4 separate regions of the Homo sapiens genome follow, and all the other regions are linked to region 4. The links are contacts of gene promoters, found by promoter capture Hi-C in blood cells and fetal thymus (Javierre and others, 2016). All regions are on one chromosome and are shown on one strand. Each heading gives the region's core, a stretch centred on a gene start or on the middle of the fragment in contact. The rest is flanking DNA. Distances are from core to core; before and after follow the strand shown.

The links. The method cuts DNA at HindIII sites, captures the fragments that hold promoters and counts their contacts. A CHiCAGO score of 5 or more calls a contact.
Region 1: a fragment that was not itself captured here is called in contact with the fragment with the promoter of ATP13A2 in region 4 in 4 of 17 cell types (naive CD4 T cells, fetal thymus, non-activated CD4 T cells and 1 more); the score reaches 8.1 in naive CD4 T cells.
Region 2: a fragment that was not itself captured here is called in contact with the fragment with the promoter of ATP13A2 in region 4 in 1 of 17 cell types (neutrophils); the score reaches 6.2 in neutrophils.
Region 3: a fragment that was not itself captured here is called in contact with the fragment with the promoter of ATP13A2 in region 4 in 1 of 17 cell types (neutrophils); the score reaches 5.4 in neutrophils.

Annotation. Positions count from the first base shown.
Region 1 is chr1:16,603,750-16,610,227 of GRCh38, forward strand. It overlaps NBPF1 (NBPF member 1), which reads right to left. Exons shown (of 18, transcript NM_001405701.2): 2 at 4,759-5,030. Among named protein-coding and RNA genes, the nearest start is that of NBPF1, 6.6 kb to the right of the region's middle. RefSeq lists enhancers at 1-71, 3,521-4,022, 4,023-4,522. The HindIII fragment of the contact is 4,959 bases long and covers 1,490-6,448 here.
Region 2 is chr1:17,369,193-17,375,491 of GRCh38, forward strand. PADI6 (peptidyl arginine deiminase 6) reads left to right here and starts at 3,004. Exons shown (of 16, transcript NM_207421.4): 1 at 3,004-3,169; 2 at 3,864-4,041; 3 at 6,235-6,299. The coding sequence starts at 3,054. The HindIII fragment of the contact is 3,678 bases long and covers 1,901-5,578 here.
Region 3 is chr1:17,267,121-17,273,311 of GRCh38, forward strand. PADI3 (peptidyl arginine deiminase 3) reads left to right here. Exons shown (of 16, transcript NM_016233.2): 6 at 717-842; 7 at 3,113-3,291; 8 at 3,759-3,862; 9 at 3,947-4,058. Among named protein-coding and RNA genes, the nearest start is that of MIR3972, 7.7 kb to the right of the region's middle. RefSeq lists a silencer at 3,577-3,820. The HindIII fragment of the contact is 9,501 bases long and covers 1-6,191 here.
Region 4 is chr1:17,008,560-17,015,109 of GRCh38, forward strand. It overlaps ATP13A2 (ATPase cation transporting 13A2), which reads right to left and starts at 3,369. Exons shown (of 29, transcript NM_022089.4): 1 at 3,170-3,369. The coding sequence starts at 3,179. RefSeq lists enhancers at 1,621-1,700, 2,464-2,513 and a silencer at 3,004-3,533. The HindIII fragment of the contact is 3,526 bases long and covers 1,903-5,428 here.

The sequences.
Region 1 (6,478 bases), core at 2,719-5,218, 400 kb before region 4:
GTCAAGATATTGTACTTCCAACTGTTGTTCCAACAGCTGTATTATGAAGGGCCACTTTATTTCATGCCTTTCTAATTTGACCTAAAGTGCCAGGTGGCACTGGGGCTGGCACAGCCTTGCTCAATTATGTGTTGCAGAGTACACAGAGACTGCCAGGCTGAGGGAAGATGCAAGAGAATAGAAGAGATGCTCTCAGGGAACAAGAGACCACATGGCCCCAGAGTCAGGGGCAGCATCAGCCACTGTCAGCTGCTCATTTTCCCAGACAGAGCCCACAAGCCTCAGCCATGCTTTGCTTCTGCAAGACGCTTCTTCACCTTTTCAATAAACCTGCCTGAATTTAAGCTGACAGGGTTTATTTCTCCTTCATCATAAATGAAATTCTTCACCACAACAATCTCCAATGAATTTTGGGCACAGCAGGCAGGCCCATTTCTGCTTCTGTTCCACTATCTCTCCTGTAGGTTGAAAAGGAGGAGGTACTGAATTACCTCCAAATGTTCCTCTGGCTCTGATATTCTGTTATTCTGGTTCCTTTTTGGCTACTTTGTTTTTGGTAGCGTGTATCCTAAGGCGTCCAGTTGAACAACTTTTGTCTACTGTGTCCAGGCATTCCTGGTGGTATTTCAGATAAGACTCTCTTGGGTTGCTGAACTCACAACCACTGAACCAATTCTATGACCATCTGTTTCATGGCCACATGTTTGCTCATTTTATATGTACATAAAGGGAGGGGACAGACAGCAAACTTGCGTGTTACAAATTGTATCATCTTAAAAAGGAAACAAGGCAACACTTTGCAATAAAACCTTAAGATGCATGAAATTTGAGCCTAATGCAATAAAGGATGCCCATAAAATTCTTATCTAAAGAATGTTTCGAAAATTGTTGTACAAGGACATCATCATTTAAAGTGATATGAAGAAACCTTCTCAGCTAAGCATATGGGCTAGATTAGAGAGAAAAATAAAGGACCCATCTCTGCCCTGGAAAAACTGCTGGTAGCATCTTTCAAAAAGCTCTCTGTGTTTGAGTACGCACCTTGATCCATAGGCTCACATTTGATCCCAACTGGCAGCTGCTTCTTGGCATTAACATTGGATTCCCAACTAGTAAATCTTACCAAGATCTGACTTTCTGCAGATATAATATTATTTTGTTTGACCATCCTTATCTTCAAGGGCTACCAAGAAGGAACCAAGAATTTATTTACCTCCCCAAGGGAAAAGGTTTTACCAATGAGACCCTTTCTCACCATGACCCCAGGACCCCATATGCCCTGTTCACTTGAGTGCCCTGTGTGGCCTGATAGAAGCTCATGCTGGTCACAGGATTCCTTATATGACTAGCCTCCTTCCTGAATCCCAATTTCATGGTGGTGGTCATGACAGGTGTCCTGTATCCCATGCTCATGTCCCTGAAGTCACCAGCCTATCTCCAGTTAGAAAAAATTACATGTATATAGAGAGGCCTCTTTGGAAGGAGCAAAAGCTTTCTCACCTTCGTACACTAATGGTTGGAAGGTACAACAGCATATGCACTTTGGGAAAAAATATCTGGCATATTCTTACAGAAACAAACAACTACCTATTCTATGACTCAGTAATTCCTAAGCATTTATCCAAGAGAAACTAAAACCTATGTCCAGAAAATGACTTATACAAGAATGTTCATAGCAGTTTTATTCATAATACAAAAAACTGGAAACATTCAAGTATCTGTCAATACAAGAATGGATCAATAAACTGTGATACACTCATTCCATGGAATGGCTAAAGGAACAAACTGGTGACACACAGAACAACATGGATGAATCTCAAAAACATTTGGAGTGCGATAGAAGCCATACCCAAAAAAGTGTGAGAAAAAAAGATAAATAATAATGGTTCCAAGAAATGCACAGCAGACAGCCCAGAGGCAAAGACCCACAGGACGGCGGGCCGGTCCCAGGCTGTCGATCCTAATTAAGAAACTTCTGCTGGATTTTGCCCAGCTCCATTTCCAAACTATTTTGGGTCAGTGACTTCTTTATCCCTTCCATGTTGCCTCATTTTGAACTAGAATCACTGTAAGTGTTATTCTATGTCTGTCACATCATTCCACAGTAGGGGCAGATAAGCTGTTTAGAATGGCTAAAATTCAAAAAGGTGAACACACCAAATGCTGTCAAAGATGAGGAGCAACCAGAACTTTCCATCGCTAGTGGAAATCAAAAGGGTACAGTCACTTTGGAAAACTTAAGTTCACTCAAAATCCTGCACAGAAGTACTTACAGCAATTTTATTCATCATCGCCAAAACTTGGAAGTGCCCAAGATGTCTTTCACCAAGCGAAAGAATAAACAAACTGTTGTAGCCATACAAGGAAATCTGATTCACTGATTTTAAAAAACAAGTTATCAAGCCATGAAAAGACATGAAGGAACTTAAAGTACATAATGCTAGAAAGAAGCCAGTCTGGAAACCCACATACTGTACCACTCCAACTCTAGGACATTCTTGGAAAGTCAAAAAGATAGAAGTAGTAAAATGGTGAGTGGTTGTCAGGGGTGGAGGAGAGGAGGACGCGTGAAATGGTGAAGCACAGGGAATTTTCAGCAGTGAAACTCTTTCGCATGATGCTGTATTGGGGATTTAGGACATTATGTAATTGCCAAAACCCATAATCTGTGAAACTCAAAGAATGACCTCTAATGTAAACTATGGACTTTAGTTGATAATGACGTATCAACAGTGGTTCATCAATTGTAATGAATGGACCACACTAATACAACATACTAGTAGGGAAAATTGTGTGCTGGAGGACAGGGGAGCCTAGGAGAACTCTCTGTATTATCCACTCAAGTTTTCTGTAAACCTAGAACTGTTCTAAAAAATAATGTCTATTAACTGTTTTTTTAATTAGGATGCAGCAGCCCCATATCAAGGTTTTGGTGGCATCCTGTAATTGTGTGGTTAGTACTTGGCATTGAAGTGCACCAACCTGGAGTCAGAGCAGTTGGAGATTTCAAGGCCTGTGCCATTTACCTCTAACCCTGGGGTGCCCCTGGAATACAGATAGCAGATCGGTTAAGGAGAAGCAGCCTCAGCAATCTAGACAGTGCAGGTTTCTGGTGAGGACAGGTAAAAACCATCTGGGTGGGCAGAACTTGGTGAAGACCAGAAACCACTGAGACTCAGCAGCTGCCGCAGTGGCACCCACAAATCAAAGGAGGGGGCTGGGAAGAGCTAAGGGCTACTGGATGAGCTCTCTGCCTGCAAGACAGAAGCAGATCCAGAGATTTTGGAAAATAATGTAGGTTTCAGTACAGTGTGATCTCTTCAAAAAAGTAGAGAGAATGAAAAGGAAAGAAAAAGAGAGAGCATGAGAGAGAAAGAAGAAGAAAAGAAGAAAGGAAGAAAGGAAAGAAGGGAGGGAAGGAGGGAAGGAGGAAGGAAGGGAGGGATGGAGGGCGGGTGGGAAGGAGGGAAAGAATAAAAAGAGAGAGAAAGAGAGTTGGAGGGAAGTAGGGAAGGAAGGAAGGAAGGAAGGAAATGAACAAATTTACATGAAGATGAGAACAGTGGGGAAACTTACACCACCAATATTTTCCATTAACAGGAACACGCTAAGTAGTTATTAGAGAAAGACACGCTACTGTAAAACAATATACTGTTTCCATGGGGTACAACAACCCCTTCCTCCTCCTCTGAAACACATTCTATCTCTGGCTCACTGTTGCCAGAGACACTGAGTCTTGTCTTTGGATACGTTCTGGTGCCCACAAGAATGAGATGAGACAGTGGATCCCAGAACACCAGGCCACGAACTTCCCTGTTGCTCCTTGTCCACTCCAGAAGCTACCCAGCTGCAGTTGGGGACCTCAGCCCCTGGGTCTGATGTCATCCATTTGCCTTTCTCAATGGACTTCTCTCCTTGCACTGGCTCCTACTCCCCCAGGACCTGTGGGTGACCACATGAGAAGAACACAAACAGGCCATGCCCCTTTCTTTCTCCCCCTCTCAATGCCTGCAGTAGTGGGTTCCATGGGGTAGTGACCTGAGATTTACTCATTGTGGGGCCTCTAGCCCAGAGCAGGGCCTACTACCTCACAGTCACCCCATGAATGCTCAGTGAAAGAAGACGTCCACCACAAGGTCCTGGGGAACCAAGAATTCCACTGTGGCCCATAAATTCTAAGTCTACAGGATTCTGGAATGGGAGATGGGAAAGGCCTTCAAAAGTGGCCACTTTTAACCCATTATACTGGCAACTGAGCCATGTTTCCCCATCCTGGACACATCCAGAGGGCACTGCCTAAAACCAGACACATCTCCCCACCCAGGACAGTGTAGGAGCCTTAGCCTGGGGGATGCAGGTGGACAGGGAGGGGGTGAGCCACCAAAGCTGAAGAGCAGAAAGCAGGTGAAAGGGGACAGCAGGGTGGAAACAGAGAGAAATGGGGGCAGAGAATGGGGGGTGAGAGGGGAAGAGTGAGGAGAGGGATGCAGATCTAGCTAGTAAGGAAAAGTCCTGGAGAGAACACTGTCCTCTCCTGAAGTAAAATCACTTCTACCTGACCACGGCACTGCAGCTCATGGGCAGCACATGCTGTGGATATTTGTTCATTCATTTAACAAATATTTATTTAATATCTGTTGCATGCCAAGCAAGGCCCTGCAATGTTTAGGGACCTTGACATCTTCCCTTCACATCTGAGTCATAATACAAAGAGGACTCTCTGACCCCACTGAGCTGGCAATGCCTCGGGATTTTTACCTGTTGGATCTGGCAGCTCTTGATGTCAGCCCACACCATGTGAGGCTGCTCTTGGTGCACCCAATGGGGAAGTTTCTACATCAGGGCCTCGGAGAATCCACTGGAAGCCCTGGACAGTGGGAGTCAGCGGCATCCCCAGTGTGGAGGCCAAGAGCACACAGTGCTTAAGCTCCAGGCACCCTCAGGAGGACGGCAAGGGACAATTGGCTGGTGAGAGCCCGGGTCACCGGGAACCTTCGCCTGGGTCTAAACAGGATTTGCCTTCAGATTGCCTGTGAGATAAAAGAGAGAAATCAAGGTTAACGTTGAGATTTAGGGCTTCGGTAACTTGAAGGATGGAGCTGCCATTTACGGAGACTGGGAAGACCCAGGGAAGAGCAGATTGAAAGGTGGTGGGAACTAGAGGTGGTTGGGTTTCTGTCATATGTAATCAACAGTCCTGACCAGCCTGGGCAACATAGTAAGACCCCGTCTGGGAAAAGAAAAAAGGAAAAATAAGCTGAGCATGGTGGTGCACACTTGTAGTCTCAGCTACTTGGGAGGCTGAGGCAGGAGGATTCCTTGAGCCTTCAGTTAGCGGTTAGTGAGCTATGATGGCACCACTGTACTCCAGCCTGGGGGGAAAAAAATAAAGAGTCCTGACTAAATACTAGAGTAGCCAGGGAAGTTTTCACAAAGTAAGTAATATTTGAGGCAGATCTTAGTGAACAAGAATTCCATTATTTCTGTTAGGGAATTAAGAGAGTGTGGGTGTCGTTAGTTAATGCTTATTAAAGTAGCTTTGGAATCTCATCTACTGGTCTAGCTGGTCTATCTGTACACGTATATTGTATATGCTGTCTCTCTGAGCTTTCGCTAGGTTATGCTACGGTAACAAAAGCCCCAAAATCTTAGCAGCTACACATACGAAGGTTTATTTTTCATTGACATGTCCTTTTATGGCAGGTTGACTGTGACTCTACTCTATACAAGCTACTTTATTTGTTAGATGGTGAAAACTGTGATACTCGGAGGTTGTTGAATATGGTATTAGTATGTTCATTCATTCATTCATTTAAGAAATATTTATTCAATATCTGTTTCATGCCAGGCAAGGTCAAGTACTGAGAATACACTGGTGAATCAAAGAGACAAAATCTCTAATTGCCAGGAGCTTATATTGAAAATCAGATTAAACACATACAAAATCATCATAATAACAACAATGAATACTATATTCATAAATAATAGCTGTAAGAGATTTTAGTACATCTTTTAAATTAGAAAAATATAAAAATTATTAAAACTAAAATGGCCAGGTGTGATGGCTCATGCCTGTGATCCCAACACTTTGGGATGCCAAGGTGGGAGGATCATTTCAGCCCAGGAGTTTGAAACCAGTCTGGGCACTACAGGAAAACCCTGTCTACAAAAAGGAGAAAATTAGCCGGGCACAGTGGTGCATGCCTGTAGACCCAGCTACTAAGGAGGCTGAGGTGGGAGGAGTGCTTGAGCCTGAGAGATCAAGGCTGCAGAGAGCCATGATCATACCACTGCACTCCAGCCTGGGCGACAGAGCGAGACACTGTCTCAAGAAAAAAAAAAAAATTATTTGATGTAGTCCTAAAACTATTATGTAGAATACTATTGTTTATATCACAGCACGTGAGCCCCTTAAATGGCTTAACACTTATTTAGGTATGATCCATAAAGCTTTTCTGGTAATTAAGTATACTTAAGA
Region 2 (6,299 bases), core at 2,490-4,989, 360 kb after region 4:
GAGATAGAATCTTGCTCTGTCGGCCAGGCTGGAGTACAGTGGCATTATCTCGGCTCGCTGCAAACTCCATCTCCCCAGCTCAAGCGATTCTCCTGCCTCAGCCTCCTGAGTAGCTGGGATTACAGGCGTGAGCCACCACACCTGGCTAATTTTTGTATTTTTAGTAGACGGGTTTCACCATGTTGACCAGGCTGATCTCAAACTCCGGACCTCAGGTGATCCACCTGCCTTGGCCTCCCAAAGTGCTGGGATTACAGGCCTGAGCCACCGTGCCCGGCTGGGTTATTATCTTCTTAGGGGGAGGACAAGGAGGTGATTTAGTCATTTGCTCCACAATAACTTGTTGAGTACCTACTATGTCTGGAGCTGTTTTGCAGGTGCTGGGGATTCAGTGGTGAATAAGAAGCCCCTGGAGGCGAGCAGGACGTGCTCTGGGTCTGAGTCACTTTCATCTCTGTCCACGAGGCTGGGTGAGGAGCCTTCCTCACTGTGCTCTGTAGAGCCCTGGCACAAGGCAGGGCTGCCCCAGGGTGGGGAACGTCAGAGCTTCCAGGCTGCCTTCCTCCAGACCCCAGAGCCTGGACTGGGCCTCAGCGACCCCTCCCCAGTCAACCCGTCTTCTCCCTCCAGCTGCCTCTGGCCGCTTGTGCGTGAGGGTGGGTGAGCCCTTTGGGATGAGTCTCATCAGAGCCTCTGCACGCTGAGTGCTTCCTGCCTGCTTAATTTTGCCACTTTCAATCCAACCAGAGGGGCATTTTGGGTCTTGCTGACCAACCCCCTGCCTCCAAGAGCAACTAAAACAGAGACATCCTTGAGAGTTGTGTTGAGTGCTTAAAACCTCCAGGGAGGGAATTTTTTACTGCAACTTGCAAATTTAGCCAGCCTGGCTGACCGAACAGGCTTCACTCAGTACCTCATCTCCACCTCCTATGCTGGGTACACCTGGGTGCATATTAGAGCAAAGGCTGAAAACAAATGTTTATATTACAGTACAACCCTATGTAAAATACACAGCTGTACAAAGGGGTAAGGCTGCTTTTTACGTACTGATACAAAGAACTTCTCTCCAGTATAACTATGAAGTGAAAGAGGCAAGGTATGGAATACTGGGTGGCACATACTACCGTTTATATAAGAAGACAGTAGTAGGAGGAGAGAAGAAAAGAGCAAAAGCGCCCCGGACATAGTAGGTGTTCAGCAATTCTAGTGGAGCAAATGACTAAATGACCTCCTTGTCCTTCCTCAAAAAAGATAACCCAATGGGCTTCCAGGGGCATCTCCACTGAACTGAAAAGTTTGTAATTGTAACCAAGCAGCTTAACTTTGAGCACATTTTACAACTTTTCTCTTTAGTCTCGAGATGTAACCTCGAAGGAACCTGCAGAAGCCTTTTTCCCTTAACCTTAAAATAGACTCCACGTCCTTCCCTTTCTCACCATAAAGCCCCTTCAAATTTATCTAACTGTATGCTAGTATTGGAGGAGGAAGAGAAGAAGAAAAGGATACACACACATATTTACTTGGTCATGCATAACATTTATTTGGAAAGACATATAAGAAACGGGTAACACTGTCACTACCTCCACCTGCAGGTGGGTAAGGCACAGGGCAGGAGGGAGACTCTGAACTTGGAATCATGTGACTGTGGTACCTATTCAGGAGTAAGCATGACCCAGCCTGGGCAACATAACAAGACCCCATCTCTGCGGAAAAATGTAAAACCATTAGCTGGGCATGGTGGTGCACATCTGTAGTCCCAGCTGCTCAGGAGGCTGAGGTGGGAAGACCACTTGAGCCTGGGAGGTCAAGGCTGTGAACCATGATCACGCCACTTCACTCCAGCCTGGGTAACGGAGTGAGACCCTGTCTCAAAAACAACAACAAAAAAAAACTCAACCCAAGCTTAAGACATGAAATGAACACAATTTTAAAGTCAGTTATGTAAGTTCCTTGTGCCAGAGAAGGGTTCCTATTTCTTTGCTCTGTGGGCTCCGCTGAGATGAGTAGCAGCTGATGACCCTGGCTTGATGTATTCATTCCACTAACACTTGCTGTGCCCCCACCCCCACCGACACAGCTGTAAGCAAAGAGCTCACCTTAATCACTGGGGGTTGGGATGCAGGTTCCTGGACCACACCCTAGACCTTCTGGGCCCAGGAATTTGCAATGTTAACAAGCACCCTTGATAATTTTTGAAACCACCAGAGGGTTAATAACCACCTAGTCTAGGCAGGCGCTGTGGCTCACGCCTGTAATCCCAGCACTTTGGCAGGTCGAGATAGGAGGATTTCTGGGATCAAGAAGTTCGAGACTAGCCTGGGCAACATGGCAAAACCCGGTCTCTACAAAAAATACAAAAATCAGCTGGACATGGTGGTGCACACCTGTAGTCCCAGCTACTTGGGAGGCTGAGATGGATCACTGGAGCCAGGTAGGTTGAGGCTGCAGTGAGCTATGATTGCGCCACTGCACTCTAGCATGGGTAGAGACCCTGTCTCAAAAACAAAACCAAACCACCAGTCCAGCACTTTGCCGAGCTCCTTCGTCAATTTCCAGGAGACACACACCCTAGAACTGAGACCCCAGAGCCTGGGCATGCTGCCACACATTGCCATCCTGACTGCTACCATCAACTCCTCCCAACTGCCCTCTGCAGGTATTTGCCCCGACAGCTTCCAGCTGAGTCCTCCAGCAACATGGCCAAGTTGATCACTCCAAGGCACCGACTTCCCAGAGCCCCTCCTCTTCCCAGCTGAAGGCCACAGATGCCTAAGCAACCGGCCTCAGACTCCCCTGGCCTGCAGCTCTGCAGGCACGAGGTGCCTGATAAATTGGTGATGAAGGGGTTCTGATGCCACCTGCTCCCCAGACTATCAGCCACCAGGAAGCTCTTAGAGGGAAAATCAGTGACACCTGGGCAGCTGCTGACCCCTCCCCTTCTTAACAAGGGGGTGGCCTGCACAGGCCTGGACTGTATAACAGGGAAGGGCAGGGTGAGCCCTGGGGCGTCTGAGGCTGCTGTGCTGAGTGAGGGCTGCGGTGCAGGCCTGAGGATGGTCAGCGTGGAGGGCCGAGCCATGTCCTTCCAGAGTATCATCCACCTGTCCCTGGACAGCCCTGTCCATGCCGTTTGTGTGTTGGGCACAGAAATCTGCTTGGATCTCAGCGGGTGAGATGCTGGGAGCTCTGCCAGAGGTGGCAGGCAGACAGGCAGGCAGGCCTGGGACCCAGTCCCCTTGATCTGGGAGTTGGGGGTTACTTCTCTAGCCTCACTATCCTGCCCCATCTTGGGAAGCCTTGGGTCTCTAGTGGGGGGCCTCCCAGTTCCAACCACGCAGAATTCTGACTTAAATCCTGCCTCTGCCCTGTAGCAGCTGCCATGGACTCTTAGTGAGGCAAGGGCCTTGGCCTCTCTGTTCCCCTATCTGTGAAACCATGGGGACGCTGGCCTCGGGGGGCTGTGAGGAGCAGGCCAGGGAGACTGCTAGATGCTGGAGCCTGCAGGTGGAGGTGACTCAGCAGGGTCACAGTACAACTTCCTGAGTCGCTTGCCCTGATCTTTTTCTTTATGGGGATCCTTTGTGGCTCCCCCCTTCTTGGGAATTGGGTGCTTATTACTAAGATGTAGCTGTGGTAACTTCTGCAGTGTCGGTAGCGGGATGGGGTTTGGGCTGGAGCCCGTCGGAGAGCAAACACAGGGGTCCTTTGGGAGGGGGTGGGTAGGAATAAGGACCCCAGACCACTCTGCCTCAACACCCTAAGGAGAATGAGGATTCGGGAGCCGTCCCCTCCCCCATGCCAGTCATCTCCTAGGCTGAGAAGGTGTTTGTGCCCTGACGCGTGTCTCTTACCGGGCAAACCAGGTGTGCCCCCCAGAAGTGCCAGTGCTTCACCATCCATGGCTCTGGGAGGGTCTTGATCGATGTGGCCAACACGGTGATTTCTGAGAAGGAGGACGCCACCATCTGGTGGCCCCTGTCTGATCCCACGTACGCCACAGTGAAGATGACATCGCCCAGCCCTTCCGTGGATGCGGATAAGGTAAGCCTCAGGGGAAGAGGTGAGGGGCATCTCCCGGGGTGGGACCTAGCACAGCCACTGGGGCTTCCTCCTGGCTGCAGACGTGACTCGAGCCTGGGAAACACGTTGTTTTGCACGTCTGATCTCATCCAGTGTCTGCAACAGACCAGTGGTGTGGGCACTCCATGACCCCATTTTACAAAGAAACAGAGGCACCTAGCGAAGGTGCCCTGCCAAGTCAGCAACCAGCAGGACTGGGATTTATTTTTTATTTTCATTTATTTATTATTATTTTTTTTTTTGAGTCTCACGCTCATTGCCCAGACTGGGGTGCAATGGCACAATCTCAGCTCACTGCAACCTCCACTTCCCGGGTTCAAGCAATTCTCCTGCCTCAGCTTCCCGAGTAGCTGGGACTACAGGCACCCACCACCATGCCCGGCTAATTTTGTATTTTTAGTATGAGACAGGGTTTCACTATGTTGGCCAGGCTGGTCTCAAACTCCTGACTTCAAGTGATCTACCTGCCTCCACCTCCCAAAGTGCTGGGATTACAGGCATGAGCCACCACACCTGGCCTACCATCACTTTACATATGAGGAAACTAAGGCACAGAGTGCTGTGTCTAAACCTAAGTAGCCTACCTAGAGTGGGATAGACCCAGGATTTGAGCTTGAGCCCAAGGGTGTATTCTCCCCTGGGTAAGCTGTCTCCCTAATGGGGTGCCTATGTTGGGGAGGTTCTCCTGTGGTAGAAGCAGGTGGCTCATTCAGGGCAGGAGTGTTCAACCTTGGTTGCAGGTGAGAACCACTGGGGAGCTAATAACATCAATACCCAGGCCACACCCCCTCTACCAATTAAACCTGAGGTACCAATGGAACCTCAGGGCTAGGATCCTGGCCGCTGGTTTAAAGCTCTCCAGGTGCACCCAGTGCGGGGCTGGGGGTGAGAACCATGATGGAGCAGTTCAGGACTGGGAGAGCTCTCCCTCCCTCCCCCCACACCCTACAGGACCTACTGGAGATGTCTGCTGCAGAGGGGTAGGTACACACACCCACCTGCGCTGTGTGCCCAGGGCAGGCAACTCCCTGAGAGGCAAGTAGTGGACTTAGGTAGGAACTGAGTGTCTCTGGCCAGGTGTGGTGGCTCATGCCTGTAATCCCAGCACTTTGGAAGGCTGAGATGGGCAGATCACCTGAGGTCGGGAGTTTGAGACCAGCCTGGCCAACATGGTGAAACGCTGTCTCTACTAAAAATACAAAAATTAGCCAGGTGTGGTGGCAGGTGCCTGTAATCTCAGGTTCTCAGGAGGCTGAGGCTGGAGAATCGCTTGAACCCAGGAGGTGGAGGTTGTAGTAAGCTGAGATTGTCCCACTGCATTACAGCCTGGGCAACAAGAACAAAACTCCATCGCAAAAAAAGGTATCTCAGATAAGAATGGAGGCCACGGTGGGTGCCAGTGGAACTCCAGACTACCTGAGAACCATTCTCTGCCCAGGGCTCGGCCTCCAGGACCCTCAGGAGTGGCCAACAAAGAACCTTGAACTTAGAGGACTAAAGCTTCTATTTAAGGATGGGGTGGATCTGTCACATGCTCTGGCCAATGGTTGGGTCTCTGGTTCATGACCAAGACCTTGTGGTCAGGGTCAGTGGCTGGAGGGCAGGTCTCTTTCTAAAAGCATAAAGTAGAGGCTGGTGTGGGACACAGTCCCACAGTTGGGACTGAGTCCCAACGCTGCTTCTTCACCTGGGTGTCCTTCTTAGTGAGCAGCTTAAGCCACCAGAGGCCTGTTTCCCCACCGTGCACCTTATGGAGTAGGACATGGGACCCCAGGAGAGTGGGTTTAGCAGGGAGGATGTATAGTGTGGTTTCAAGCTTGGGCTCTAGAGCCAGGCAGCCTGTTTCTTAAATCCCTTTGGGATAAGTCCCTTGATCACCCCGCCATCAGGGATACAGCTCTCACGTGGACAGGTGGTTTCAAGCCTGGCTCTCGACAAGGTTAGGGTTGGGGGTCATGGCAGGTTCTAAGTCCTTAGGGGACTGACTCAGCCCTAAGCGCAGGGCTGTGGCCCCATACCAGCTCATAGGTGAGACTTCAGAAGCCATAACACAAGACCAAGATCCCACGCCTAGACTCGGCACATGGCCTGGGGCTCTGTTCCTGGCACCTCCCGTCCAACACTGCCTATGGTTTCGGGATGCTGTCTCCACAGGTCTCGGTCACATACTATGGGCCCAACGAGGATGCCCCCGTGGGCACAGCTGTGCTGTACCTCAC
Region 3 (6,191 bases), core at 674-3,173, 260 kb after region 4:
CACCTACTGTGTGCCAGGCCTTTTCCCCAAATTCTCATTGAATCATCCAAGTGGGACAATATCATCACCCCAATTTAGAGATGAGGATGCTGAGACTCAGAAGCCAGGAGACTCCCTGAAGACTGTGTCTGATCTGGGGCCTCCCCTCTCAACCCCAAATCTGGGCCTCCTCCTTCAGCACCTCTGGCCTACATTTCTGTGACTCCCCCACCTCTTGCTAAGTCCATCTGTCCTGAATTCCAGCCCCATGGAGAATGAGCTGCAATATTCCAGGGTATGCTAGGTGCTGTCCACGGGAGATGCCCACGGTTGCCTTCTGAAGTGGGCACCATTGGACATGGGGATGCTGGGGCTCCAGAAGGGAGGGGCTTGTCCAGGGTCACAGGGAGTGATGCTGGGATGGAGGCCAGAACCCTTACCTGCACGACGCCCACATGGCCTTACCCTCCTTGCTTCTCTGGAGCACCTGTTGTGTGTCAGACACCAGCTGGCTATGCCACACTTCATGTTTCTCTGGGCAATTGAGGAAACATGAGTCCAGGAGAGCATAGATGTCTTCATGGTTTGTTCTTGATGGCTTCCAGGGTTTTCACAAAGCTAGGGCTGGGAGACCCAGGTCTTGATACCCACTGACCTGGGGAGGGAGCTGGGCAGCAGAGGAAGGGGCCAGGGGCCAGGACTCCCTTGAGTCACTACCACTCTGTCTGGCTTCACAGACCTGGAAGACATGTCTGTCATGGTCCTGCGGACGCAGGGCCCTGCAGCCCTCTTTGATGACCACAAACTTGTCCTCCATACCTCCAGCTATGATGCCAAACGGGCACAGGTCTTCCACATCTGCGGTGAGTTTGTGCCACTGCCCCTTGCCATCTGTGCCCTGTTGCCAGGTTGCCTACCAGGGAACCTCCTGTTCCTGCCTTGGGCCATGGGCAGGTCCTGCTTACACTCCGGGAGATGCCCTGGTGGGTGGCGGGTCGCAGTAAGAACAGTCAGAAGTGGGGGCTTTGGAACTGATGAACTGGTGCCCCCAGCACAACACCTGGCCTGAGGTCATTTTATTTGATGAATGACCTTTTCAAATACATTTTAAGCATGTGTAGAAATTCTTATCAAAAATTTCAAACATACACAAAAAGCAGTGCTGTGAATCCCCATGTGCCTGTCACTCAGATTAAACAATTATCACTGTTTTGTCTGTCTCGCTGAAGTTTTGTAAAACCAACCCCAAACACCATAGATTTCACCCAATTAATTCAGTTTGTATTCCCCCCAAATATAGATGGCTGTTGTTTTACATAGTCTGCCAAAATCACAAGAAATACAAGTAAAAATCTAAATGCCTTTGAGAAACTAAAAATGTATACAAGTAATAAGATGCTTTTTTTTTTTTTTTTTTTTTTTTTTTGAGACAGAGTCTCGCTCTGTTGCTCAGGCTGGAGTACAGTGGCGTGACCTCGGGTCACTGCAACCTCCACCTCCTGGGTTCTGGCGATTCTCCTGCCTCAGCCTCCCAAGTAGCTGTGACTGCAGGCATGTGCCACCACACCCAGCTAATTTTTTGTATTTTTAGTAGAGACAGGGTTTCATTGTCTTAGCCAGGATGGTCTCAATCTCCTGACCTTGTGATCTGCCCGCCTCGGCCTCCCAAAGTGCTGGGATTATAGGCGTGAGCCACCGTGCCTGGCCGCTTATTTTTTAAATAATCAGACAATATGGAAGTATAGAAAATGAAACCTGAGAGTTCTCTACCCGTCTCTAAATCTGACTTTTTTTTTTTTTTTTTGAGTCAAGGTCTTGCTCTGTTGCCCGGGCTGGAGTGCAGTGGCATGATCTCAGCTCACTGCAGCCTCCACCTTTCAGGCTCAAGCAATCCTTCCACCTTAGCCTCACGAGTAGCTGGGACTACAGGCATGTACCACCACACCCTGCTAATTTTTTTTTTTTTGTAAAGACAGGGTTTCACCATGCTGCCCAGGCTGGTCGTGAACTCCTGGGCTCAAGCAATCCACCCGCTTTGGCCTCTCAAAGTACTAGGATTATAGGCGTGAGACGCCGCACCTGGCCTGAATCTGATTGTCACTGTTAACGAGTTGGGATGTGTGCTTCCCAACTTTATTCTACATGTTCTCCAGCGTGTGTCCATATGCTGCTTTCCAACCGGCTTCTTTCATTAAGTAATAATCCCACACACCTTTTCTGGTATTTATTGAGCTCTACTTCATTCTTTTCCACTGCTGTATAATATTCCTAAGCATAGAGGTGCTGTGACTTACACAGTTCTCTGAACATCATAGTGGTTTGCAGTGTTTTGATTTTATAACAATGCAGGTTGCTTGAGGTCAGGGGCTTTGTTCAAGTCCAGAACCGTGCCCCATGGGTGCACTGTAGTTGCACAGTAAATATTTGATGAATTAATGAATATCGAGCACTCTTGTACAGAAATATTATGTGACTTTGTACCTATTATTGTTTGTTTGTTGTTGTTGTTTTGTTTTTTGTTGGTTTTGGTTTTTTTTGAGATGGATTCTCGCTCCATGCCCAGGCTGGAGTGCAGTGGTGTGATCTTGGCTCACTGCAACCTCCGCCTCCTGGGTTCAAGCAATCCTCCTGCCTAAGCCTCCTGAGTAGCTGGGATTATAGGTGTGCACCACCACCGCCCGGCTAATTTTTGTATTTTTAGTAGAGACAGGGTTTCACTATGTTAGCCAGGCTGGTCTTGAACTCCTAACTTCAGGTGATCCACCGCCTTCGGTCTCCCAAAGTGCTGTGATTACAGACATGAGCCACCGTGCCCAGCCTGTAGATGTATTTTTGTAGGAAAGATACCTAGCAGTGGAATTGCTGGGCTTGGGGTAAACATTACTTTGTTGGATGCTGCCAAATTGTGCTCCAAAAAGGTATGAGCGCCAGTCTTAGAAAGGAAGACCCTTTCCCCCAGCCGTGGCCCCCACTGTGTATTACCTGTCCTCTCCTTTGCCAGTGGAGGTGAAAGGAGGGAGTTGTTGGAGGACTTGGAATTTTTGGTGAGGCTGCAGACCTCTTCCTGTGTCCCTCATACTCATGCTCCCTGGGCCCACAGGGAGTCACAGCCACCCCGTCCCTCCCCTTCCAGGTCCTGAGGATGTGTGTGAGGCCTATAGGCATGTGCTGGGCCAAGATAAGGTGTCCTATGAGGTACCCCGCTTGCATGGGGATGAGGAGCGCTTCTTCGTGGAAGGCCTGTCCTTCCCTGATGCCGGCTTCACAGGACTCATCTCCTTCCATGTCACTCTGCTGGACGACTCCAACGAGGTAGGGACAGAGGGGGTTCAAGAGGAGCTCCACTCGGGACCAGCCTGGGCAACATGGTGAAACCCCATCTCTACAAAAAAAAAAAAAATAGCGAGGTATAGTGGTGTACACCTATAGTCCCAGTTACTTGGGAGGCTGAGGTGGGAGGATCACCTGAACCCCAGGGAGGTTGAGGTTGCAGTGAGCCATGATCACCCCACTGCACTCCACAGCCTGGGCAACAAAGTAAGACCCTGTCTCCAAAAAATAATAATAATAAAGGGCAGTGGGGAGGACTCCATTCCTGGTAAGTCTACCAGGCACCACTGGTGTGAAAGACCCCAGACTTCTTGACCACCCCTCTGGTTCATTTCCATCTTGCAGAGAAGCAAGGGGTTTTCTTATGGACCACAGTGGTGGAATCAGAGTCCCCCCAGGCCTCTGGACTCCAAGTCCAGTGCTCTTTCTCCCCTGGTCTGCCCCTGCAGGATTTCTCGGCATCCCCTATCTTCACTGACACTGTGGTGTTCCGAGTGGCACCCTGGATCATGACGCCCAGCACTCTGCCACCCCTAGAGGTGTATGTGTGCCGGTGAGTCTTGGGGCAGTGGGTGGTCCCTCTGGCCCCCAGGCCCCGGCTCCATCCTGAGCCCCTCTTCCCTGGGCTTGTCCGTAGTGTGAGGAACAACACGTGTTTTGTGGATGCGGTGGCAGAGCTGGCCAGGAAGGCCGGCTGCAAGCTGACCATCTGCCCACAGGCCGAGAACCGCAACGACCGCTGGATCCAGGTAACCACAGCCACTGGGCAGGGCCCAGCAAGGACGCCATCCTGGAGAGAGAGGCCTTCATTTGGGGGCCACCGAGAAACATCCAGGAGGACCTGGGTGCTCCCCAGGGAACTTGCTGCCGTTTCTAATGTGAGACCTAGAGGCTTCTCTCCAGAACCTTCTGGAGACCCACGCTGATCCTGGATTCAACACCCATTCACCCACCGGATCTGGGCTAGGCACTAGGCTAGGCCCACAGGGGTGGCACAGGTGTGAGACACACACTCCCTGCCCTCAACAGCTGAGACCAGTGGTTCTCATCAAGAGGCGATGTGTCCCCAGGAGACGTTTTGCAGTATCTGCAGACAGTGCGCAGGACAAGCCCCCACAATAACATATCATCCAGTCCCACGCCTCAGTAGTGTCGAGGCTGAGAAACCTTGATGTGCAGAATGATTGCTACAAAAATACCTACTCCTACTATCTAGTGTGTAGCTGGGGCAACATGGTGAAACCCTGTCTCTGCAAAAAAGTTAAAAAATTAGCAGGGCATGGTGGCGTGTGTCTGTAGTCCCAGCTACTCTGGAGGCTGAGGTCAGAGGATCACCTGAGTTTAGGAAGGTCAAGGCTGCAGAGAGCTGTGATTGTGCCACTGCACTCCAGCCTCAGCAACAACAACAAAAAAAAAAAAAAAAAAAGAGAGAGAGAGAGAGAGAAAAAGAAATATCTAGGGTGCAGAGGCTATACCAGCAAAGCACCAGTAGGGTTTGGGGGATGCAGCATCACCTCTGCCCAGGGAATCAGTGAAGACCTCCAGGAGGGAGAGCATCTGAGCTGGACCAGATTTGGCAGATGAGGGCACATGACTTCTGCCATTTATGCCCCATTTTCTGCAGGCCAGGCATAGCATCATTTCATCTTCTTGATAACCCCCTGTAAGTCCCCCATAATTCAGGAGCTCTTAGGGGAGCATGACTGGGCCACAGAGCTGGTAAAGGCAGTGCTAGGACTCAGGCTGCCAAGCACCAGGCTGTACAGGTTGGTGGTCCTGGCAGAGACCGAGCATGCGCAAAGGCCCGGGGGTGGGAGGCAGGAGAGAGAACCTTGTGTGTTCTCCTCTGTCAGGGCACTGGTTCTGAGAAAGGCAAGGGTTGAGGTCGGAGACCTTGAATTCCAAGTTAAGGAGCTTTCCTCTTGGCCGGAGGTCAGTCCAGTGAGAGGGTTTGGGGCAGGACTCTGGGGCACGATGGGCTGGGTTTAGAGCCTGGCTGTGCCACCAACTAACTAGCTGTGAGCTTTGGGACAAATATTTTTTAATTTTTATTTATTTTTTTAAATTAATATATTTTGAATTTATTTTTCTTTTTGGAGACAGTGTCTCTCTGTCACCCTGGTTGGAGTGCCATGGCATGATCACAGCTCACTGGCAGCCTGGAACTCCTGGGTTCAAGTGATCCTTCTGCCTCAGTCTCCCGAGTAGCTGAGACCACAGGTGCAGCCACCAGGCTCAGCTAATTTTTTGTAGAGATGGGGTCTTGCCATGTTGCCCAGGGTTGTCTCAAACTCCTGGCCTCAAGCAATCCTCCCGCCTCACCCTCCCAAAGTGCTGGGATTATAGGTGTGAGCCACCGTGCCCGGACTGGATAAATAATTAGACCTCTTAGTTCCTCATTTTCCTCATCTGTCACATGGGATAATTATGGTGCCCACGCCCAGGCATGTCATGAGGATGAATGGAGTTAATGTTTATAAAGAGTTTAGGGCAGGACCTGGATGTGAAGTTCATTCACACTGGGCCATCTTTTCCTCCAGAACCAGAGGGGTCAGGACTGACCTGGGCACATTTATGGATCCAACTCAGGCCACTGTGAGTGCTTCTCTGTGTCCACCTGCCTTGGCCCAGTACTCACAGGGACACCCCCAAGGTCATGTCCATGTTCTCGTTCACCTCCGGCCTCTGTCTTGCTGTGTGACCTTAGACAAGTGCACCCCCTCCTTGAGCCTCCAGCCCCTCCTCCAGTCAGCAGGCACCCTGACCTCGGTCCTGTCCGCCTCCAAGCACAAAACATGCTTGGGCCAGGGGACTTGGTGAGCAGTCTGCCCCACAGGGCTCAGAGCCGAGCCAGCAGGGGCAGCTGTTGACTGTCACAGCTG
Region 4 (6,550 bases), core at 2,119-4,618:
TTCCCAGGCTCTCTTCTCCTTTCACATCACCCTGTCTGAAGCCCTGGCTGTCCCACGGCTCCCTAGGCCCATTCAACAGTTGCTCCTTGTACCTTAAAACCCTCAGGCCGGCCGTGCGCAGTGGCTCACGCCTGTAATCCCAGCCCTTTGGGAGCCCAAGGGGGGCGGATCACGAGGTCAGGAGGTGGAGACTAGCTGAGACCATCCTGGCTAACACGGTGAAACCCTGTCTCTACTAAAAATATAAAAACCAAATTAGCCGGGCGTGGTGGCAGGCGCCTGTAGTCCCAGCTACTTGGGAGGCTGAGGCGGGAGAATGGTGTGAACCCAGAAGGTGGAGCTTGCAGTGAGCTGAGATCACGCCACTGCACTCCAGCCAGGGTGACAGAGCAAGACTCAAAAAAAAAAAAAAAAACCCTCAGGCCAACAGCCCAGCGGGCTCAGGGATGATGGGAAAGGAGCCATCCCTGCGGTGCTGATTTGATTTCCTCCCGCACCAACCCACAAGGTGGGCTCTCTTACCCAGTTTGACAAACGAGAGCACTGAGCCTCTGGGGCAGTTGCCCTCAGACTTGTCTCAAAGCTGGAACAGGGCTGGCCTTACTCCCAGGTCCTCTCTGCCCAGCACATCTACTCCTGACATTCCCCTCAGCATCAGGCTCAGATGGGTGTCACTGCCCTTACTGCTCACAGTACCTGCCATGTGCTCAGGGGTCAGGAAACACTGATTGACCGACTGACTGAATGAATGAATGTCTGTCTCTTGGACACAACAGAGCTTGAAGGCAAAGGTGCTGGGAGTTGGGGGGAGGGGCTTGAGCCTCTTCCTTTTTTTTTTTTTTTTTTTTTTTAAAAGAGACAGGGTCTCACTCTGTCACCCAGGCTGGAGCACAGTGGCATGATCCTAGCTCACTGGAGCCTTGACCTCCTAGGCTAAAGGAGGTACTCTTGCCTCTGCCTCCCAAGTAGCTGGCACTACAGGCAGGTGCCACTGCACCAGGCTAATTTTTTTTTAGTAGGGACAGGGTCTCATTTTGTTGCCCAGGCTGATCTTGAACTCCCGGCCTCATGCTGATCCTCCTACCTCAGCCTCCCAAAGTGCTGGGATTACAGGTGTGAGCCACCACACCCGGCCTCAAGACTCTTTATGAAGAAAAGGTTCTTCAAAAAGAGGGCAGAGTCCCCAGTATGTAAACAGCGGTCCCCCTGGGAAGTTCTTCCTCATGGCAATCGTATGACTGTCACTTCACAATGACACTCTCTCAGTCAACCTTGGCAAAGAGGAAAAGGGGAGTGGAACTTGAGGGAGGAAGTCACAGCTGTGGAAACCTCCAGAGCCCCTCCCTGCAGGGATCAAGCCCAGGGCACTCTCTCCTGCAGTACATCTGTTTATCCCCAGCCACAGCCCAGTCTCCCCAGGGCTTCTGTGGGCTCAGACCAGCCCAGAACAGGCACCCACAGGCTGTGTGGGGGGGCGAGAGCACCTTCATGATGGCATTGCTCTTTTTTTTGAGATGGAGTCTTCCCCCCCCGTTCCCCCCTTCCCCCCTGCCCGTCTCCCAGGCTGGAGTGCAGTGGAGAGATCTCAGCTCACTGCACCCTCCACCTCCCAGGTTCAAGCAATTCTCCTGCCTCAGTTCCTGAAGTAGCTGAGACTACAGGCACATGCCACCACACTCAGCTAATTTTTGTATTTTTAGTAGAGACGGGGTTTCCCCATGTTGGCCAGACTGGTCTTGAACTCCTGACCTCAAGTAATCCGCCTGCCTCAGGCTCCCAAAGTGCTGGGATTACAGGCGTGAGCCACCACGCCTGGCCTGTCATTGCTCTTCTGATGAACAGCAGCTCCCATGGAGTGCTCACCATGCCCTGCGGAAGCCCTTCAGTGTGCTAACTCAATGAAGCTTCACACACAACCCTCTGGGGTAGTGACTATTATTATCCCCATTGTACACCTGGGGAAACTGAGGAACAGCATGTGAATCCCTTGTCCAGGGTCATAGAGCTTGAAAGGGGAGAAGCTGGAAATGAGTGTGTCTGAATGGGCACATTCTTTCCCACAGCCATTCCATGAAAAGTACAGATTAGGATTCCCATTTAAAACGAGGCCCAGAGGAGTAGATTGACAAGCACAAAGTCACACAGCTATGAGGGGCCAAGACTGGACTTGAACCTCGTCTGAGGTCACAGCTCGGGGCAGTGTCACCAGCACTGTGGATCAGAGGGGCTAGAGCCATTTGGGACCTCTTATTTCCTGCGGAAGCCTTGGCTTCCTGCTGGTGACCTGGCAGCGGCCCAGGGCGGCTGCCTCCTCCCTGGCTGTGGTTCCCGGCGGCGGGGAGCTCCTGTCTTCTGCCAGGCTGAGGCGGGAGTGTGTGTGAACCATCTTCCCATCTTTGGATCTGGATTCTAGGGGCTGTCTTTCCTCATTCCTTCCCCTCCCTCGCCGGGGGGTGCACTCTAGGCTGTGGGGCTGGGGGCTGAGTGACAGACACTGAGATGAGACCTTTCTGGATAGGGGAGGAGGACTGGCCCCATTCCCGGCAGGTGGGATTTAAATTAGACCCTGGAGGAGTGGGCGTAGGACATCTGGCCAGGGATGGGTTGCATGGAGGGTGTGGCCCTTGGCCCTGGGTGTGACGGGTTTTCTCTGGGGTCTGAGGCAGGAGGTCAGGAGTGGCGCTGTGGCCCAGGACATCTACCCAGGAAATGGAGTCCCGACTCCCCCAACGCCATTCATTCATTCATTCAGCCCAGAGGGGTTGCCCAGAGGCCCGAGGATGCAGCCGTCTCCCCCACCTGGACATCCGTCACTCGGGGTGGGATCCGATTAAGTGGGCGTGGGGTGGCCTCCCCGTCCCCGCACGGCCCCAGGACCCTCTTGCACAAGCGCCCGGCTTCCAATCCCGCGGCTGAGGGGTGCAGGGGAGGGGAGGGACCGGCTGCGAGCGGCGGCGCCATCCCCAGCCCCGGCGTCTCTGGGAAGAAACCGGGGCCGAGTCCCCGTCAAAAGGGAGGGGACGGGCCAGGATCCCCAACCAGGTCCCGCTTCCTGGGCTCGCGACCCCGCGGTGGGGGGCGTCGCCTCCCCTCTCCCTCCAAGGGGTGACGACAACTGGCGGGCCGGGGACCGCGCCGGGCTCGGGGCCGACCCGGACTCCGCACTCACCTGCGCTCATGCCGGCTCCTCGCGCTCATCGCCGGCCCCGGCGCTGCGGCCCTCGGCCTGGGCCCCGGCGTGCGCAAGGCCCTGGGCGGGGGCGCGGTCCGGACGGCCCGGGGCGAGGGGCGCTGGGCTAGCGCGGGGCTGGAGCAGGGCTGACGCGGGCGGGGCACCTGGGCCACCAGGCTCGGCGCGGCTCCGACACTGCCGCAGTCCCTCCGTGCGCGCCGCAAGCCCCGCCCGGCCCTCTGCGGCCCTCGCAGCGCCCGCGCCGGGGCTGCCGGGACTTGTAGTCCCCGCCTGCTCCTCCGCACACACCGGGGGCGGGGCGACCGGAGACACACACCTCACGGAGGTAGCCCCCGCCAGCACGTCCCAGTGGTTAGGGACTGTGCGTGCTGGTCCAGCTCTCCATGTCTTCCAGGCCGCGCGACCGTGAGCAAGTCACTGATCCTCTCTGGCCCTCTTTTCCCAACCTGTAGGATAGCAATGCCTGCTTCACAGAGAACTGCTGCGAGGATCACACAAGAAAATGCTTGTCAACTGGGCGTGGTGGCGCATGCCTGTAATCCCAGCTACTCGGAGACTAAGCCAGGAGAATCGCTTGAACCCAGGAGGCGGAGGTTGCTGTGAGCCGGGATCATGCCATTGCACTCCAGCATGGGCAAAAAGAGCGAAACTCTGTCTCAAAAAAAAAAAAAAAAGAAAATGCGTATCAAGCACTTGAGACAGTGCCTGGCGCTGCTTGATGAATGCAAAGAAGGAAGACACACCTGCCCAGAGATTCACAGGGTCAGATGTGGGCCCACAGAGACCCAGGGAGAGTCTGCCATGATGCACTGGAGGCCTTGAAATGCCAGAGAAAGAGAAGCCTCACAGCGTGACCTGCAGACACACCTGCACTGGGGGGATTCATGAAGACCCCTGAAAGGCACCAGAGATGTCTTACCTGCGTGCAGCATTTATCCTGCTACCCCATAGTGACCGGCACAGGCATAGTGTTCCCTGTCTCCAGGACCTCTGGACAGAGGAGCTCCAAAGGGGAGAGTGGATCTGTGAGATCCTAGGGCAAACAAGGGAAGGTTCACGTTAGGGCCAAGGATAGACGTGGGCAGGATCACTGGTCATTTGTCCAGTATGAATTTATGGAGTGCCAGCACCACTGTGGGAGCCAGGAACGTGAGAGTGAACAAAACAGAGATGCCCCTGTCCCTGCGGAGACTGCTGTCTACTGGGAAGTAGCCCTAGTCAAGGAAAGGAAAACTCCAACGATCCCTATTGTGGAAGGGGCTGGAAGGAGACACAGCTGTGATGGTGGTGAGGGTGTGGGTAGGGGATAGACCCCAGGAGGGAAAGCAGCACCTGATTCATAGCAAGATCCCAGTGAACATTTGGTACAGGAACACACGTTGGCAGGACTTGCTGGTGGATAGGATGTGGGGGTGCAGGAATGTGTGGAATTCAAGATGCTCCCCAGGGTTTTGGCCTGAGCAGCTGGGTGCCAGTGGAGCCATTTACTCAGCTGGGGCAGGCTGCCCGAGCCAACCAGTTGCGGGTCATTCCTGTTGACCACCTGGGCCATGGGACTGGCTTCCTTGGGTCAGGTGACAAGAGTTCTTTCATCTTCCGGTGACACTTCCAGGGGAGGCAGGCTGCTTAACTTTTCAGAACTCCCATGTCCTCCCCCAGGGCTTAGCTCAATTTCTGGCAGGAACCCAGCCTCCAGGGCAGCAGGAAGGCTGGGTTTGGAAATGGCTAGCCCAGGTGGCCTTGGCAAGAGGCAGTATGGTACAGTGGCAAGGGGCTGGGTTCTGGCATCAGAAAGACATGGATGCATGAGTTGCTTTCTAGCTGTGTGAGCTTTAAAATGTCACTTTCCTTCTCTAAGGCTCTCCTTCCCCTCACCTACAAAATGGAAGGCATGGAGAGGATGAAATGAGATGGCAGGAACTTGGTAGAAGCCAGCTGCTTGCTTTAGATCCTGGCACTGGATTAGCGGCTTCATAAAAGCAGAGGTACTCCAGTCTGGGTGAAAGACTGAGACTCCCTCTAAAATAAATAAATAAATAAATAAATAAATAAATAAATAAATAAAAGCAGAGGGCTTGGGGACTGCATGGGGGACTGCCTTGCAAGGGTGCCCCCTTCATTCTTTTTATTGCTAAGGCTGCCTGGCCTTAAAGGGGCTCTATTCCCTGAGCCAGCTGGGAAGGAGCCGCACCTGCAGCTCGTCCCTTCTCCTTAATGAGGGAGGAGGCCAGAGGAAGCTTCCTTCCAAACCACAGAGCATGTGGGAGGCCTTGCCATCTGCTTGGGGTTACCTTTGGGGAAGTGGCTCTCGGTGTGTGGTCATCGAGGAGGTCTGTGGCCCAGGCTGTCTTCCCGGATAACCGTGTCTGAAATTTCCAGTCCCACGTGGGTGAGAACCGACTGAACAGCTTCCCTTCTAGGCTGTGGCTCTCTTGGGAACCCACGGAGAGGGCGTAATAGGCCTGGTCCCAGTGGCAAAAAGCTTGAGAAATCACTAATTTGGGCGAGTTTATTCCAGAGCATTGCTTTACTTTTCGACTTCTCTAGTTTCACTAGATTTTTGCAACAAAAGAGGATTTTTTTCACCTAGTAACAAACCCTGTTGGTAGGATTATGGCTGTCTAGACACACAGTAAAGTGGGGTTTCAGTTTTTGTTTTTGTTTTTTTTGTTTGTTTGTTTTGAGACAGGGTCTCTCTCTGCTGCCCAGGTTGGAGCACAGTGGCATGATCTCAGCTCACTGCAGCCTCGACCTCCTGGGCTCAAGTGATCCTCCCACCTCGGCTCAAGTGATCCTCCCACCTCAGCCTTCTGTGTACCTGGGACTACAGGTGAGCACTACCACACCCAGCTAATTTTTCTGTTTTTTTTTTTTGTAGAGATGGGGTTTGCCATGTTACCCAGGCTGGTCTCGAACTCCTGTGCTTCAGAGATCCACCTTGGTCTCCCAAAGTGGGATTACAGGAGTGAGCCACTGTGCCTGGCCGAGTTTCAGCACTTTGTATGGTAGTTATCCTGGTGCCAGGAAGGGAAGGGGCCTGAAGAGAATTTGACCAATGGGAGTCCCTCCCTGACCTGAGCAGTGTGACGGGAGAGATGAGAAATAAGCAATATTAGCCTTGCACGGAAAAACCATCCTCCCAACAGGGAGGCCTCTAGCTCTGGCCAGTCATGTCAGAAACATGCCAGCTGTCAACTCAGGGTTGGGAAGGAATTACTCTTGCAGCCTCCCAGCATTCACTCGAGGGCCTTTCACATAGTAGGTACTCAAGACAAATCCGTTCACTTGAGTTTATGGAGCATTTACTCTACTGCAGGCAAGATGCTTTCACATTTACTTTTAGACTTCAACCATAAT